Linked DNA regions of Homo sapiens: region 2 is linked to region 1. The links are contacts of gene promoters, found by promoter capture Hi-C in human tissues and cell types (Jung and others, 2019). All regions are on one chromosome and are shown on one strand. The core of a region is centred on a gene start or on the middle of the fragment in contact, and the rest is flanking DNA. Distances in the headings are between cores, read along the strand shown. Region 1 holds the start of SLC44A5 (solute carrier family 44 member 5). Region 2 overlaps SLC44A5 (solute carrier family 44 member 5).

Region 1 (5,540 bases), core at 1,114-3,613:
TGATATTTGATAGATGACAGAAGCAAACCCAGAAAGTTGTAATCTATTGACTTGCCTCAATTTTGCCTTTTAAGAGGAGAGCTCTACAAAAGCATCTGACTGCAGGCTTGCTGAACTGCTCTCAGATGTCTGCTTCTAAGCTACAACCAACTAAACTGGGACTGCCTGGTAGGAAAAATTTCTAGGCTTTATTGGCAGGGGCAGGCTACTGGGGTGAACTTTGCTGGATAAAACACTGTAGATTTAGCAATATTCCATGCTGTGTTGGTTATTCTCTTACAAGAGCTGCTTCTCTGCTTAGCTACACCGCATGCAGGGAGAGATCATTCGTCGGATCTTGTGACAGGCAAGTTGCTCATTGGCTTCTGAAGTCCTAGCAAGAGAGACTATCCATAAGCCTAGAAATTGGCCAAAGAGAAATGCAGTTTCTTAACATTGATAGAAGAATAAGATCTGTTGGCAGGATTTCTCAAGGGACATTAGCATTCATTTGTGACATCTCATCAAAAGGACAGTCTTTCAGAAAGGCCAATGGAATCTTTTACAATCCAATATTGATAATGTTTTTAACGAAAAAATGCTATAGTTCATAATCAATACAAGTCTTATAAATGCAAGCTGGTTACATTGGTTATAATCACGTCACCACCCCCACCCCTGCCTTTTCCAATATTAGTACAACAAAGACTTCTTGCTCAATTACTTAAGTGTAAAACTTATGTTTAGGTTAATTTATTCATTTATTCATTTAGCACATATTTATTGAGCACTGAATATGTACCAGATTCTGTGCAAAACACTAGGGATACGGTAATGAACATGATAGACAATGAAGTAAGAGGAGGCCTGGAAGAAGCAGGTGACAAATAATATGAACCAGAAAATTTCACATAGTGATTAATACCAGGAGAAATAAAACAAAGTGATGTGCGAGCAAATGATTTTGAGGTTACTTTAGATTGTCTGGAAAGGTGGCATTTGTGTCGGGAAACAAGTGATGAAGAGTAATTTGCATGCCAAGAACTGGAACATAACACTTCAGGCCTTAAGGTAGAAATGAGGTGGTAGCTTGGCACATTCACATACAAAAGGAAGAGGTGTAATGTGTAAGGAAGAGACAGTTAGGGAGAAGCCAGGCCTTTTTGGTCATAAAAAGGAATATAGAGTTTAAGTGCAATGAGAAGCCATTGGATATTCACTTGCTATTTGGGGATACATTCCTCTCCTGGAAGATTATTTCAGGGAGAGGAGCATTCCTACATCAACTCCCTAGGCCAACTAAGGTGACCTAATAGACTTCACTTTTCTAAAAGGTCCAGTTATACTCACGTTATTTTCTCTTGCTATTCACCAGAATACCTATGCAATTTCAGGCTGAGATATTGATAGCATCTCTAGGAATCCCTGCTTAGAAAACAATTCTAGAGAGAATGAGGATTAATTTAACATTTAGTACAAGATGATAAGATTAGTCACTTCCCTGGCAAGCCTTTCAATGCAAGTAAGTCTTAGGAAAAACATATTGTAATGGTAGAGGGGGATTCTGAGGGGTCCAGAACATGACTGTGCAGTAGGCAGAATGTGGAAGGCAGCATGAGGGGCTCCTAGATAACAGAAAGGGGTCCACAGAAGGAGAAGAGTGATGTTTGGAAGGGGACATGAGAAAGCCTCTAAAACAACATCAGCCAATTCGTGATTTTGCCAAGTGGAAGCCTGATATGAGCATGTTCCAAGAGAAACATTCTCATTCAAACACAGAAAAAGTTTAAACCAGGGTACTTTTATGCTTTTGACTGATCTTTTTATAATGAAGCATTTGTAACAATAAAAGCACACAGATGTTTACAAAGTCTCTTTGATTTTACTTAATCACTGTCAGGTTGTTCTGATGGATTACAGACCTCACAAATGAAAATAGCATGAACATATTAATGATAACTGCTGTTTGTTGGAGGTAGTTGCTTGATAGCTAGTTAAGGAAATCATGCTCTTGGGTCTCATTTTACTGTAGAGATGTTGGTAAGTGGGATATGGGGTATATTGGATGATTTTCTTTCCCCTAAGCATTTGTGACAAGAAGGTGCTATGATATTCAGGAAAGACACAAATAATAGTAGATTATTTTAAAGGTAATCATGGCCTACTTCCACCTCCAAACTACCTACTTCTTTGCCAAGGATTAACAATGAAAAAATATACTATAGCTCCAGGACTTTGTTCAGTCTCCTCCCCCTCTTTATACTCCAAGTGACTCCTTTGAGGCTAGCAAGGCTAGTAGGACCTCAGGGATTACCTAAGAATGGGGTATGGCCCTTAGTGATACTGGAACACAATGTGTTTATGACATCAGCTTTTTTTTCACAGTAGTGAATCGTAGCATGTTAGAGTTAGAAGGTTCAGTGTTGATGGAGTTATTGAAGAAATGATGGAGTAAGAGGTGAGTGATACTGCTAAATGCAAGAAGTCTATGTCTGTAGGAAAATTGGTCAAGTTTGTTATTCATAAGTACGTATTCTATACAACTCAAGAAATACACACACACACACACATATATATAGTGAAGTCTGAATATAAATTAGGAACTGAGCACTTCCTCTCCGTGTGTGTGTGTGTATATATATAGATATCCTGGGGGATTATTTAAAGAGAGTAGTATTTTTACATCAGCTCCCTAGGCCAAGTAAGGTGACCCAATGGACTTCACTTTTCTAAAAAGTCCAGTTACACTTATGTATCTTCTCTTAATATTCACCAAAATATCGACAATATTTCGGGCTGAGATGTTGATAACATCTCTAGGAATCCTTACCTACTGGTATTCACACCTGTTCATACTCCCCTTCCAAAATGAATCACAGCTGACCATGTGATCAGTACTGTACAGCAGAAAACTACATCATAAAGACATACACTATGGCTTCTGCCTTGTTCTTTTGTATTCTTTGCTTTCTTATGTTGCTCATTTTGGGGAAACCAGATGCCATGTTTTAAAAATACTCAAGGATCCCTTGGATTATTTTTTGAAGCAGAGGTTCATACAGATATTATTAACATTTCAGCCCAAAATATTGTCGGTATTTTGATGAATAGTAAGAGAAGATACATAAGTATAACTGCACTTTTTAGAAAAGTGAAGTCCATTGGGTCACCTTACTTGGCCTAGGGAGCTGATGTAGAAATATTGCTCTCTCTAAATAATTCTCCAGGATATCTATGTGTATATAGGTATATGTATGTATATGTATATACCTATGGAGAGAGAAGAAGAGCTCAGTTCCTAATTTATATTCAGACTTCACTATGTGTGTGTGTGTGTGTGTGTGTGTGTGTGTGTGTGTGTATTTCTTGACTTGCATAGAAGTCTTGAATCTTAGCTCTGTGTGGGAAGAACTGAGGCCTCCTGCTAATAGCAACAACTTGCTAGTTATGTGAGTGATCTATCTTGGGAACAGACCCTGCAACCAAGTCAAGCCTTCAGATGACTGTAGCTTCAGCCAACATCTGACTGAATTTCATGATAGCCCCGACCCAGAGCTATCCAATCAAGCTGCTTCTGGATTCCTGAATCACAGAAACCATAAGATATAATAAATGCTTACTCTTGTCTTAAACCACTAAAATTTGGGGGTAATAGGTTACATAACATTAGATCATGAATATACCTGTGGTTCATTATTTTTGCACCTCTATCATGAAATGTAATATTTGTTACTAGTTCCAACACTGATCTTGAATCTTAGCCCTCTTTCCTATTTAGTGAATTGGGCTGAAACCCTGAAGTTCTCTTTTCTTGTTTCCCTTGAGTTTCTTGTAGCAGCTTGCTTTCTCCTCTGCTTTTTTGAGTACTGATTCCTGGCTCCTCTAGTTCATTTAGTTTAGAAGATACTTTCCAAATTGAAGCACTACCGAACCAAAAATCAGAGTGATAAAGAGAATACAAAAGCCCTAAAATCTCCCAACAGCACAAGATTTCACAGTCCTCCAAACTAAGAAGATAGAAAGTTTCTTAAAATCTACAATCTTTTATTCTCACCATCAAAAATAAGAATGTAAGGTAATGAATATGTTAAATAGCTTGATTTAGCCATTCCACAATGTGTATATATATCAAAACATCAGGTTTCACACCATAAATATATAAATTTTTACTTGCCAATTAAAAAAGAAAAAACCCAAAGAAATGAAACCCTAAAATATTCAAATAAAAACCTTTCCAGCTGTATTTATCTATTCCTCCTTACCAAAGAATCCCTTCCTCCTCCCAGCCCAGTTAGTCCTTTGAGGTATAAATAGGAGACTGAGAAAGAGGATTTAAGAAAGGAAGGTTGCCGTCTCTTCTACTTGAGAGTAGGATATTAATCTATTTTATTCGTTCATGTAGTTCTCTATTCATTCAATAAGTGTTAATCAATCGCTTACTATGTACTGGGCACTATTCTAAGCATGCTTGGGATAAATCAGGGAACAAAATGAATTCTTCATGAGGTTTACACTATACATAGGGAAGACAAACAATGAATAATAAGCATGAATACATTGTTGATATTAAAAATTGAAAAGTGCCATGACAGAAAGAAAAAAAAATGAGCATAGTAAGGGGGATTTGGATTGCTAATCATGGGATGATGGTGGGCCAGCTGCAAGTATTAATAGGGTGGTTAGGGTAGGACCAATTGACGAGGTAATATTGAAGGACATGAAGCAGTGGAAGGGGAGGAGACTTCCAGAAGGAAGGAAAAGCCAGAGCAAAGACCCTACAGTGAAAATATACCTGGTATGTTTGACTAACAGAAAGAAGACCAAGTGGAATTAGTAAGGGGGATAGAAATAGAAAATGAAGTCAGAAAGATGAGGGAAGACTAAATTATATTAAACTTTTTAGAAAGTTTTAAGACTTTGGTTTTTACTCTGGGGAAATGTGGCACCAGTTCAGATTTTGAACAGAGGAAAAATATGATCTGACTTACATTTTAAAATAATTGCTACGGCGACTGTGTTGAGAATATCGAGCCAATATGTAGGGGTAATGAGAAACTAGAAGACTAGTAAGGAATCTTTTGCAATAACTCTTTAAAAATTTTCTTCTTCTGGTGGCTGAATAATACTCCATTGTGTACACACACAACACACACACACACACACACATACCCCTCACATTTTGTTTATCCATTCATCTGTGGATAGACACGTAGGTTGATTCCATATCTTTTTCTCTGGAAAAATATATTTTCAGTTCCTTTGCCTATTTTTAAGTTGGGTTATTTGTTTTTTTTTGTTTTTTGTTTTGTTTTGTTTTGTTTTTGCTATTGACTTACAACAACATGGATAAACCTGGAGGACTTTATACTAAGTGAAATCAACCAGGCACAAAAAGAAAAATACTGTATGATCTCACTTATATGTGGAATCCAAAATTATTGAACTCATAGAAGCAGTGAGTAGAATGGTGGTTGCCAAAGGCTGGGGGAGTGGGAGAAGTGAGGAGATACTAGTCAAACAGTACAAACTTACAGTTATAAGACAAGTTCTGGGGACATAAT
Region 2 (5,540 bases), core at 2,160-4,659, 190 kb after region 1:
CATTAAATTTCCTGTTTAGTGTTAACTTTTGAACAACTTGTGCTTAAAGAGCTACAATAAATGAAGATAACATTTTAACAACCTGGAAAAAGAAGGTGAAATATTTATTTTTTAAATGAACCTAATGGAGCAGTGCTATTATTTTAAATGCTTCCTACCACCAAAGTGTTCCTATTGTTGGGAAATGTATTTAGTATTTTTTCTGAATTGCTTGAACTTTTCAAATGAATTGTTTGTATATGTTTTTGTTATTTGATGAGTTGGGGAATACAGTTGGCTCACTAAATTCTTCACTTTTCATGTTCTTTATAAGAAGAAATTATATTGAGATACTGTAACGTAAATCCTGTTCCTTGCAATTTGATTGCAGAGAATGCATTGTTTGAAAAAAAAACTCTTGACATTTTGATATTTCATCTTTCATCTTCTTAGGTGTCCAATCCCAAAGCAAACCTCACAAAATCAGACATCATTTTTTGGCTGACTTGTCATTTCACTATTATTAGAACTCTTGCTCTTACAAGGGACTTTATTATTAGAAGTTATGATAATGTATCAGGTATTTAAAACTACTTTAGAGAGGCCGAGGCGGGCAGATCACTTGAGGTCAGGAGTTCAAGACCAGCCTGGTCAACGTGGTGAAACCTGGCTCTACTAAAAATAGAAAAATTAGCCAGGCGCAGTGGCACGTGCCTGTAGTCCCAACTACTTGGGAAGCTGAGGCTGGAGAATTGCTTGAACCTGGGAAGTGGAGGTTGCAGTGAGCTGAGATCATGCCACTGCACTCCAGCCTGGGTGACAGAGCGAGACTCCATCTCAAAAAACAAAACAAACAAACAAACAAACAAAACTACCTTAGAGAAAACTTTAAAAACTTGGAGAGGAAGCTCAAGGGGGTGGGGTGTGTAGGCAGATCTTTGTTAATCTATTAACGTATAGCTTTAGACTGAGAGTCATCGGTTCTATATGGTTACAATTATATTATACAGTCCTCTTTAGAAACAAAAGCCTCTGCAGGCTGAGCACAAATTAATTATCCACAATCTTTAAGCAATGAACTGTATTAAAATCCTGTGTTCTGTGAGGTAGTCCTAAATATTTGGAATGCATGATTAATTCCAGCGGTGGAAAGAAAGTGATACATACTAATGCCAAATTCAAATTCTCCGGAGGCATAGGGGCATCCAGCAAAGCAACACCCTTTCTAACCACTTGATGGTGTCTTTTCTGCTTATACCCTGAGCAACAAACCATAGGAAACTAATGGTGTTTTAAATGGAAAACAGCAGTTGATTAGGATGGGTTAATAGGTTCTTGGCAAAATTTCAACTTAATGGGTATGCAAGTGTATCTGTGTGTGCTCAGCAAGGCCTGTCCCAGGCCATCTAATGGTGTCACTCAGTACTATAAATTTACTTTGACAGCTAGTAAACAGATAAGTGCGTCCTGGGAGCAGGGAGTATGGAGCTGCTCGCAATTTCCAAAAGACGCAAGGCAAATAGAGCCAGGCACATATTAACGTAGCAAACATTTAACTTTTCTGCTTCTCCAATCTTTAATAGAACGATAGTAAAATAGCAAAATATGATGCGAAAGCTTCATTTCTTAAAATCCTTAAATCATAGACTCTAGTTAGGAATTTAAGGTCAAAATAAAAATACATTGATAAAAATATATACTTTAGGGGAAATAACCAAGGGCCAAGCAATAGTTTAAAGATATCAGCTTTCTTGTTCTGTGTTAGATCAATATTTCTGTTGGCTACAGCTGAGTTGATAGAAGATTCATATAACGAGCAGACAACCATCTAATCTAATTTCACCAGCCATAGGAAACTGCAGTATGATATGTTTATATTTCATTGTTTGCTGAGGAAGCTTGACCTTACTAAGCAGGTTGCTAAGCGTTGTTTCACGGTGTATGTATGAAATTGCCATATGTGTGAGAAATTGCTATAGGTATTCATTCCGTAGAGAGTACTATAGCTTTCTGTTCTTTTTCAGGCAACCAAAATAACACTGCCTACCCCAGAGAATGCTTTTCTTCCAATCCTTGCAACAAAGGCATTTGAGAGATGAATCAGGATTTAATGTCAATAAATGGAACTAGCTTAAGCCTTGGGAATTTTGAGAGCAGAGAAAATGGAAGACTTTACTATTTTATTTTTTGTTTGTTTGTTTCAAATTAGCACATAAAGACAACAGGAAGAGAAGAGGTCTGGCTTCTGTTAAGTCTGAGTCTCTACTATTAGCACCAACCTAATAGAAAGCAGCTATGGGTAGTGGAAAGTGCAATAGACCTAGAGTCAAAATCTAGGCCCAAGTTCCAGTTTGGCCATTTAACCATTGGTCCTCCTGGAAAGATTCACATAACCCCTCTGGGCCAGTTTTCTTGACAGCAAACGGAACAGATAAGGGTTCCTTCATGCAATCAAGGTTTTTTGCAACTGCCAAGTATTCTAGGAGCTTCTTAACATGTAAAACTTGCTGCACATTCCAAATCCCTATTTTTGACATTCCCATTTCTATTGGTAATATAAATATGTCCCTCAGTCAAAACATCTGTAATCGCTACTGTTGTGTATGGTATCAGTTGGTGCAGGATACCGATTATTTACCTAAACTAAATAAACTAAAGTTTACTTTCTAAGTTTTTATCTACACAAATATTTTGAGGTGAAACAAAACTAGCTCATCATAAGGCAATTATGTTTTCATTTATTTGTTGCCAATTATTCACTGCGGACTTGTAAGTCCAAAACACTGTGCTATGCACTCTGGGAAACTGGATAAGGCTATGAATAAGAGTCTCTTCCGGCCTCCTATGATCTTGCAGCCTAGTGAAATGTCCAGATGTGTCCATAACTAGCCTGATAGAAATCATATCTCTTAGAAGAACTATTAGATGACTCTAACCTGGAGGCTTCAATGCTCATTAGTATTCACTCCAGAAAGGGCGTTTGCTTTTCCATGTGTGCCTTTTTCAAAGGGCATTTCATGTCCAAATTTTACATCACATCAGTCTGGGTGAAAAAGCACAGCCTCTTAAGCACACGTGCACACACACACACACCAGTGGTTTTAACAAGTATTTCTTGAGTTCAGTAATTTTATTGAATATCTGAGAGGGGTCACAAGTATGACCATTTTATACAATCACAGCCCACTCCTCAAATTCCTCTCCTTGTCACATGAATAGCAGTCCCAGGACAATTCTTGATATATGGACCACACTTCAAACACTTCACCAAAGTACTTTTTTTTTTTTTCAAAAAAGTAACAGATTTCTTCTAAAGATTTCTGGTGAATAAAATTTTCACCTTATTCCATAAGCTTTTATGAATTGTAAGTTTGTATTATATAACAAAAGCTTTTTTCCACCTACATGTTTCTCCTTCCTCTATTATGTGTTTTTCCCCTTAGCAGTGCAGCAATGAGCTAGTGACATATATAAAACGAACAGCCAGCAATTAGCTCTTTGAGAGCTGTATGCAAAATGGTGATCTTAATGAAAGAAGAGGAAAGCCTTAGCAAATTTCTCAGACTATTAGGGCACCATTGAGGACAATTCTGAAACAGTGTCTCTATGCATTCAGCAAAATGAGCCATAGCACACCACAGTGCAGTGGGTCATTGACAATCCCTTCATGTTGAAAGAAAAAATAAAATAAGAGGATTAACTGGGCTGCCATTTATTCATTTTTTTGCACATATGGCTTATGGCCTACATAAAAATCTCTAACTAGTCAGTATCTTTCTCTGTATAGAAAAAGCAACAACTCCTTTTATTCCTCCTCAAGTTTGCAGTCTTCAGGCGAAATAGGGTGTCTTTAAAATAATGGTGGCTTTTTAGCACCTGCAGGGTTCCTAGTCCTAGATTGGCTGTAGATGTCACATTCTATCTATGTTAATTAAAATAATATAACATGATTTTAGGTATATTTTTATACATACTAACAGTATGTATAAAATTGTTCCCATTTTTCAAGCTATTTTATGGTAAATAATTGTTGTGCTTTGAAAGGGCAAAATTTGAAGTGGACCATATTATAATATATTTGAAAACAATCCTGTGAGAAAGACACAACTATTTCCCCCTCTGAAACAGTAGTTATATTATATTCCAAAGAGATTATTTCCTAGGTGTCTAAATGCTTGCTATTTTCATTTTTGTGACATCTGTGTTCTAATGGCTATTTATTCTATAGCCATTATCAAGTATGGAAGTATCAGGAAAGAAACTTCTAAGGCCTTGGTATTTTGAGAGATACTCTTAACTGTGGGACATAAACGTTTTCACTTGACAGAGAGTAATAGATGAAAGTAAAGTAATTTTGGCCTTTGATATGAAAATTTTTTTTATAAACCAGTCTCTACAATTATTGAGTTATCGTAATTATTAAGAAAATAATGTGGTCAATGTATCAACAAAAAAGTATTTCTCTTATTGAGTGAAGAAAACTTTACATTCCACAATAATCTGAAAACATATAGGCTCTACTCAAAGCACTCAAAACCTAAGAAATTGAGGAATTTATATTGAATAGTCAGTCCCAGAATTTGTGTTTCTATGAACAGCAGATAGTTGTTTCTTGCTTTTTCAAAATTTATGTAAATTTACAAGCTCTGCCTTTTAATTAGTATTTAGACAATTTACTTTTAATCTAATTATCAGTGGAGTTGGGTTTCAAACCCAGCATCTTGCTGTTCATTCATTAATTTGTCCTATCTGTTCTGCGTTCCTTTGTTCCTCTTTTCTTTCCTTCTTTTTGAATGAGCATTTTTTATTATTGTACTTTATCTACACCAATAATTTAATAGCTATACTTTGTTTTATTTTTTACCAATTGTCTTAGTCCACTTGGGCTGCTGTTAACAAACTACCATAGACTGGGTAGCTTATAAACAACAGAAATTTAGTTCTCACAGTTCTGGAGGCTGAGAAGTCTAAGATTAAGGCACCAACAGATTTGGTGTCTGGTGAGGGCCTGTTTCCTCGTTTATAGATAGGTCTTCTCACTGTGTTTTCATAGGGTAGAAGGGATGAGCCATTTCTCCTGGGCCTCTCTTAGAAGGACACTAATCTCATTCATGAAGGCTCTGCCCCCATGAACTATCACCTCCCAAAGGCCTTATCTCCTAATTCCATCATCTTGGGAGTTAAGATTTTAACATATGAATTTTAGCAGGACACAAAATTCACACCATAGCAATGGTTGCTCTAGGGTTCACAGCAGACACGTCTTTAACTTACCAGTTTACATTCAAGTAATATTATACCACTCCATGTATAGTATAAGAATCTCCTGTCCTGGATCTAATTATTGTTGCACATTTAAATTAAATGTGTTATAAACTTCACAATACATTTATATTGTTTTTGCTTTAAATAGCCTATTAGGATTTGAAGAGATTAAAACTGACAAAATTGTATTTATATTTACCTATGTATTTATCATTTCTGATGCTCTTAATTCCTTTGTGTAGATTCAACTTTCTATCTGGTATGATTCTCTTTCTGACAGAGAACTTATTTTAACA

The links. Contacts are between HindIII fragments. The study calls those that stand out against the background at their distance.
Region 2: a fragment that was not itself captured here is called in contact with the fragment with the promoter of SLC44A5 in region 1 in 1 of the 25 tissues and cell types used here (hippocampus).

What each region holds. Positions count from the first base shown.
Region 1 is chr1:75,607,937-75,613,476 of GRCh38, reverse strand. It overlaps SLC44A5 (solute carrier family 44 member 5), which reads left to right and starts at 2,363. Exons shown (of 24, transcript NM_001130058.2): 1 at 2,363-2,437. The HindIII fragment of the contact is 17,791 bases long and covers 1-5,540 here.
Region 2 is chr1:75,419,602-75,425,141 of GRCh38, reverse strand. The region is part of intron 2 of SLC44A5 (solute carrier family 44 member 5); the gene reads left to right. Among named protein-coding and RNA genes, the nearest start is that of SLC44A5, 190 kb to the left of the region's middle. The HindIII fragment of the contact is 3,343 bases long and covers 1,738-5,080 here.